Linked DNA regions of Homo sapiens: region 1 is linked to region 2. Evidence: promoter capture Hi-C in 16 types of primary human blood cells and fetal thymus (Javierre and others, 2016). All regions are on one chromosome and are shown on one strand. The core of a region is centred on a gene start or on the middle of the fragment in contact, and the rest is flanking DNA. Distances in the headings are between cores, read along the strand shown. Region 1 overlaps RPP25 (ribonuclease P/MRP subunit p25). Region 2 holds the start of SEMA7A (semaphorin 7A (JohnMiltonHagen blood group)).

The links. Contacts are between HindIII fragments. The CHiCAGO score rates a contact against its expected background, and 5 or more counts as called.
Region 1: a fragment that was not itself captured here is called in contact with the fragment with the promoter of SEMA7A in region 2 in 3 of 17 cell types (naive B cells, fetal thymus and naive CD8 T cells); the score reaches 6.5 in naive B cells.

Annotation. Positions count from the first base shown.
Region 1 is chr15:74,953,117-74,955,940 of GRCh38, reverse strand. It overlaps RPP25 (ribonuclease P/MRP subunit p25), which reads left to right. Exons shown (of 1, transcript NM_017793.3): 1 at 1-1,523. Among named protein-coding and RNA genes, the nearest start is that of RPP25, 2.2 kb to the left of the region's middle. RefSeq lists enhancers at 1-419, 420-1,353. The HindIII fragment of the contact is 524 bases long and covers 1,308-1,831 here.
Region 2 is chr15:74,432,636-74,435,349 of GRCh38, reverse strand. SEMA7A (semaphorin 7A (JohnMiltonHagen blood group)) reads left to right here and starts at 1,392. Exons shown (of 14, transcript NM_003612.5): 1 at 1,392-1,609. The coding sequence starts at 1,432. RefSeq lists silencers at 1,250-1,759, 1,810-1,959, 2,110-2,229. The HindIII fragment of the contact is 7,034 bases long and covers 1-2,714 here.

The DNA of each region.
Region 1 (2,824 bases), core at 320-2,819, 520 kb before region 2:
AGCGCCTCCACCTTCAGATGTACCTCCAGCCTTTCACTCCTCGGTCCTCCGGAGCCCACAACCTGGACACAGCTCCTCAAGACAGGTAGCATGGACCTTAAGGCGACAAGAGAGGGGCCCCAGGAGTGGCAGGAGAGGATCCCCGACCACCCTAGGGAAACTTCGTGCGATAATTGCTGCTTATGCCCGTGTTGCGTGAAGACACGGAACTTCACCTTTTCTGGGACCTTCTTTGGGGGAGAATGGTGGACAGTGGGATTCTGGAAACTTGTTTGGGACCCCCAAGGGTTAAAGCCACCCAGCATTCACGAAGAGCACCTGAAGTATGGAAGCTGAGAAGAGTTATTGGAATCACCCCCACCGTTGACAGAGGAAGGCAGGGGGTGAGAATTAACTGCTTGAGGGTAGGAGAGTCTGAGATGTGGGGGCCCTATTCCGCTCCCCGCCCTGGGACAGTTTTCCTTTCTAGTTTTCTTTCCCCTGCTTCAGAGGAGCATCTCTGAGGGTTCTAGCTCTTTTAACACCCCTTTTCCCCCTGCTGGCCCAGAGGGAGACCCAGGACTGAACTCTCCAGGCCTCCTCCCCTGAGCCCTGCAGCTGGCTGGAGTCTTGCTTCCAATAAAACAAGCACAAAAATGGCTGTGTCCCCCATTTTTTTTCTAACCACCCGCCTGTGCAGAGACAGCTCTCGCCTGGCCCCTTGTGTCTCCCCTCCCCTCCAGCCTTGCGTCCTGAGTCTTTGGAGTCTTCAGGGTCAGGCACAGAGACTGAACAGCTTCAAAATGGTGCAAGGCACTGCCCAGTCCCTGGCTTCTTCCTCTCTCCTCCCCCACTCCGCCCTCCCGGGCTGGCCCTGGCCTCAGAGGCTGTTGCAAATGGGGGCCCGTGTACCCCTGTACATCGCCACTAAGGGAAAGGGAGCGGCACATTGTTTTTCTGGGAGGGGAAGGAAGGAGTGGAAGGACAGCATCGATGAACTCTCCTGGAGGTCACTGCAAAGGGTGGCAGACCCTGCTGAGGTCCCTGAATCTGCAGCCTCCAGACAATAAACTGAACCTTACCCAGAAGGCTGGCACAAAGCCCCCAGCTCTGTGGGTAGGATCTCCCCTTCACTGCCCTCTCTCTGAGAAAGGACAGCACACCCTTGGGAAAGGGGGAGGAGAGAGACTGAGCACAAATCCACTGCTGGAAATTACTATTCAGCAGAGAAGCTGGGTCTTGGGCTGTGAATCACTGCAGGCCTCCTGATAAGCTGCTGCCTCCAGCCCTGCACAGCTGTCTGTTGAGAGATAACAGCCTCATAAGCTTCTCTGCCCAACTCCAAGCCAGCTGGGGGGTGGGGGTGCTGCTGTGTGCTGGAAGAGCTCTGGTGAGTTGGGGGTGGCATACAGCCCCAGGATCTCAGAAGCAGATCTCATCCCATGCAACTCAGCAGCACCCCTGGAAAGGGGGAGATGCGGAAGAATGTATTTATAAGTCATTTTGCTGGCAGAACCCTGAAATAAATCCTGCTGGTGACAAGAGATACGTTCTGTGGCTGACTGGAGGGGCTCTTAGGGAGGTTTCCCTCCCCTGCAGTATCTCTGCTTGAGCTTTGGAGTGAGCTTTGTCATCCAGACTTTGTCCCTCGTTGCTCTCCCCAAATTCCTGCTCTTGATGAGTCCCTGGAGAGGGCCAAGGGGTTTGGGTTTGCTTGTCTGACCCTCTCAGGGGTGGCCCAAGAAGCATGGAAAGAATGTAAACTGTCCTGACAAGATGGCCTAGCTTCTCCTGGACTTCAGCATCTAAAGGCAGTGATAAAACTTGGACAAGGTCCTGCATGGTAGAAGCTTAAGGGAGACTGGTCTTGGTTCTGAAAAGGGTCCAACTTTCCAAGACAACAAGTGACTGATAGCCGGGTTACCAGGACTATGAAAGCAGGGCCTGAGGCCGGGCATGGTGGTTCATGCCTGTAATCCTGTAATCCCAGCACTTTGGGGGGCCAAGGCGGGCAAATCACGAGGTCAGGAGCTTGAGACCAGCCTGGCCAACATGGTGAAACCCCGTCTCCACTAAAAATACAAAAATTAGTCAGGCATGGTGGCGGGCGCCTGTAATCCCAGCTACTCAGGAGGCTGAGGCAGGAGAATCGCTTGAACCTGGGAGGCGGAGGTTGCAGTGAGCCGAGATTGCATCACTGCACTCCAGCCTGGGCGACAGTGTGAGACTCCGTCTCGAAAAAAAAAAAAAGAAAGCAGGGTCTGCTAGTCTTGTCACGGAGATAAGGCTGCAATGGATTTTTTTTTATTATTTTTTTTGAAACGGAGTATCTCTCTGTCGCCCGGGCTGGAGTGCTGTGGTGCGATCTCGGCTCACTGCAACCTCTGCCTCCTGGGTTCAAGCGATTCTCCTGCCTCAGCCTCCTGAGTAGCTGGGATTACAGGCGTGTATCCCCACACTCGGCTAGTTTTTGTATTTTTAGTAGAGAAGGGGTCTCACCATGTTGGCCAGGCTGGTCTCAAACACCTGATCTCAGGTGATCCACCCGCCTCGGCCTCCCACAGTGCTGGGATTACAGGCATGAGCCACCACACCCGGCCTCTCTTTTTTATTTTTTTTATTTTAATTATTATTATTATTATTTTGAGAAGGAGTCTTGCTCTGTCACTAGGCTGGAGTGCAGTGGTGCAATCTCAGCTCACTGCAACCTCCACCTCCTGGGTTTAAGCGATTCTTCTGCCTCAGCCTCCCAAGTAGCTGGGATTACAGGCATGTGCCACCACGCCCAGCTAATTTTTGTATTTTTAGTAGAGACGGCATTTCACCATGTTGGCCAGGATGGTCT
Region 2 (2,714 bases), core at 143-2,642:
TGGCTTCACCCAGTGGGCCAGGAACCTCACTCTGCACTGTCTCTGGAGGTACCTTGAGTTTACCTTCCTGGCCTGCTGGGGTGCCTCAGGACTCTGAGGGAAGAAGGAGGGGACAACTGGAAGCAAAATGTAGAATGGTAAAGCCAAACTTCTTGGTAGCAAAACTTTCCTGGTTCCAGGAGGTAAAAACAACAACCAAATGGTCCTGGCCCCATGGAGCAGGGCAGAGGGCAGAGGGCAGCCAGCCCACCGCCTTTGCTGGTGTCTGCAGTGCGTGAATCGTGTCTAGGTCTGTGAGTTCTGAAGGTTGGATGTTCACCTCTACTCCTTCCTCGGCCTGTCTCCTCTCAGTGCAGCTAGACATCCAGTAAACACTAGATAAGTACTTACTGAGCTGGGTGGATTTTCCATTCATGGTTCCCTGGGGCACAAGTGGAAGTGGTAGGTCTGGGCCCTGTCTGGTCTAGAGAGAGGAGACCCTTTTACAAAGGGCAGGCACGTAGTTCTGAGAGGAGGAGCTGATGGCAGAGCTGGCTGGACTGCTCAGGTAACTGCAGAGGGTCTGGGCCTGGACCCCCCAAGGGAGTCCCCACTGAATGGTCAGGTTGCCTGAGATAGCTGAGCCCTAGGCACTTTGCGGGCAGAGATCCCCTTAAGCTGCTTTGACCCTCCCTCCCCCACAGTGAGTGGGGCACGGGGGATGCTCCCCTCTCTACTTGGGGAAGGGGCCTTCCTAATTATATCCCCCTCCACTCACATGGAAATGAGTTTGGATTTTCTGAGCGTACACCAGCTGGCTTGGGGGGAGGCAGCCCAGAAGGCTGCTGGCTGGGAAAGGGAGGAGAAAGGAGAGGGAGGGGAAGGAGCCAGGCCAAGATGAAAAATTTCCAGTGTTCTCCCAGGCAAAGCAACAGCGGGTCCCTGAGTGCTCCCCACATATCATCGTTGTGCCTGCTGGTAGGCTCAGCAGGGAGCCGTGTCCACTTAGGCGAACGCATCCTCCGAGGACCATAGTCCTCAGGGTGCGAACCACTTAGCTGGCCATAGCAAGGTTGTTGGGTGTTGGACTCCTCTGCGCCCTTGGAGAGAGGTCCTCCACGACTTCTACGCCAATCTTTTTACGGGGTGCGGGGAGTGGAACTGAGGCCCAGAGAGGGGATAGGGCCTGCCGCCCCTGGCAGAAGACCACAAGTCTGGCTTGTCCGCAGCTGGGCTTTCCCCGTAGAGTTGCCCGGGAGAGGGTGGCGAAGGTTCCCCCAGCAGTTCCGCTCTCGCTCAGGAAAGCCAGTGAGGCGAGAAAAGGCTGCGAGGGGCGGGGGGAGGGGCGGGGTGGGGTCAGCGCTGGCTCCGCCTCCTGGCGCTTGGGTCTGCCTGCGGCCGGGCGCTGGCTCAGTCTCGGCTGATTGCCGCTGTCGCTCCCGGGGCCACGGGATGACGCCTCCTCCGCCCGGACGTGCCGCCCCCAGCGCACCGCGCGCCCGCGTCCCTGGCCCGCCGGCTCGGTTGGGGCTTCCGCTGCGGCTGCGGCTGCTGCTGCTGCTCTGGGCGGCCGCCGCCTCCGCCCAGGGCCACCTAAGGAGCGGACCCCGCATCTTCGCCGTCTGGAAAGGTAGGCGGCGCCGCGCGGCCGGTCAGGCGCGGGATCAGACGCTGCGCGGGGCGGGTGCGGAGTGTGCTGCACCCGGAGGGAGTGCGTGCGCGCAGCTCTGCGGGTCCCGGGCTGTCCCCGCGCTGTCCCCGCGTGGAGCGTGTGGGTTTGGGTGAGTGTGTGTGAGTGTACACGCTGGCACACCAGAGCCGGCTGTAACGCTGCGGCGAGCGAGCGGCGGGGGCCGGAGCCCCGGCTAAGTCGCACCAAGTCCCTGGCAGCCAGGAGCCGCAACGCCCGGGCGCCAGGGGAGGGGGCGGGCCCCTCTCTCGGCCCCGAGCCACTCTGGGTCCTCTGGCTCGGGGGCTTCGGCGGAGGACCTTTCCCCGCCTGGGACCCCAACCCGGGTACCCTCCTTTTGAGCTGCGGGCTCTGCTGGCGCGCGGGGCGCAGGCTGGGCCGGCAAGGGGGGCGCGGACCCCTTGCCGCCGCCGCCGCGCTTCGGCAGCGGGAACAAAGACCCCGCCGCCTGCCCCCGCCCCCGCCCCGGCCCGGAGCTCGGGCCAGGCAAGGGGGTGGGCATCCTGCAGCGAGCGGCGGGACATGGTGCGGTGCGGCGGCTTGGGGTACCAGGGCGCTGCCTCAGCAATGCCGGGACCGGCCGCTCCCCCCTTGCCCGCACGTGGCAGTTGTCACCAGAAATCGGCTCCAGCGTTGGGGGGCAGTGCCCGTTGGGTGGGGCACGGCCGTTGGGACCCCCAGGCGGTGGATCTAGGGCGGGGGTGCAGCCTTTAGGCCAGGGTAGATAATAAGAACCTGGGGGACTGGAGTCTCCCCCAGGGCACCTCAGTTTAGACCCTGTACTATGGGACAGAAAGCCGGTTAGGCGGGGGTTTGAGGCTTTCTGCCGCGAGGAACTGATCTCCCCTCCCCTGCATTGCACACAAATGCCTCCCCGCCCCCAGTCCGATTCGGCTCTGTCCCCAAATTTGGCGTGTCTGCGGCCCCCCTGTCGTGATGGTGGGGGACTCGCAGTGGGGGCTGGGGGAACTGGTCGGGTCTGGCCCCACCGGGAGCCTTTTGATGCCTTTGGCAGTTTGCAGGGATTGCGGGAGTCTGAGCATTA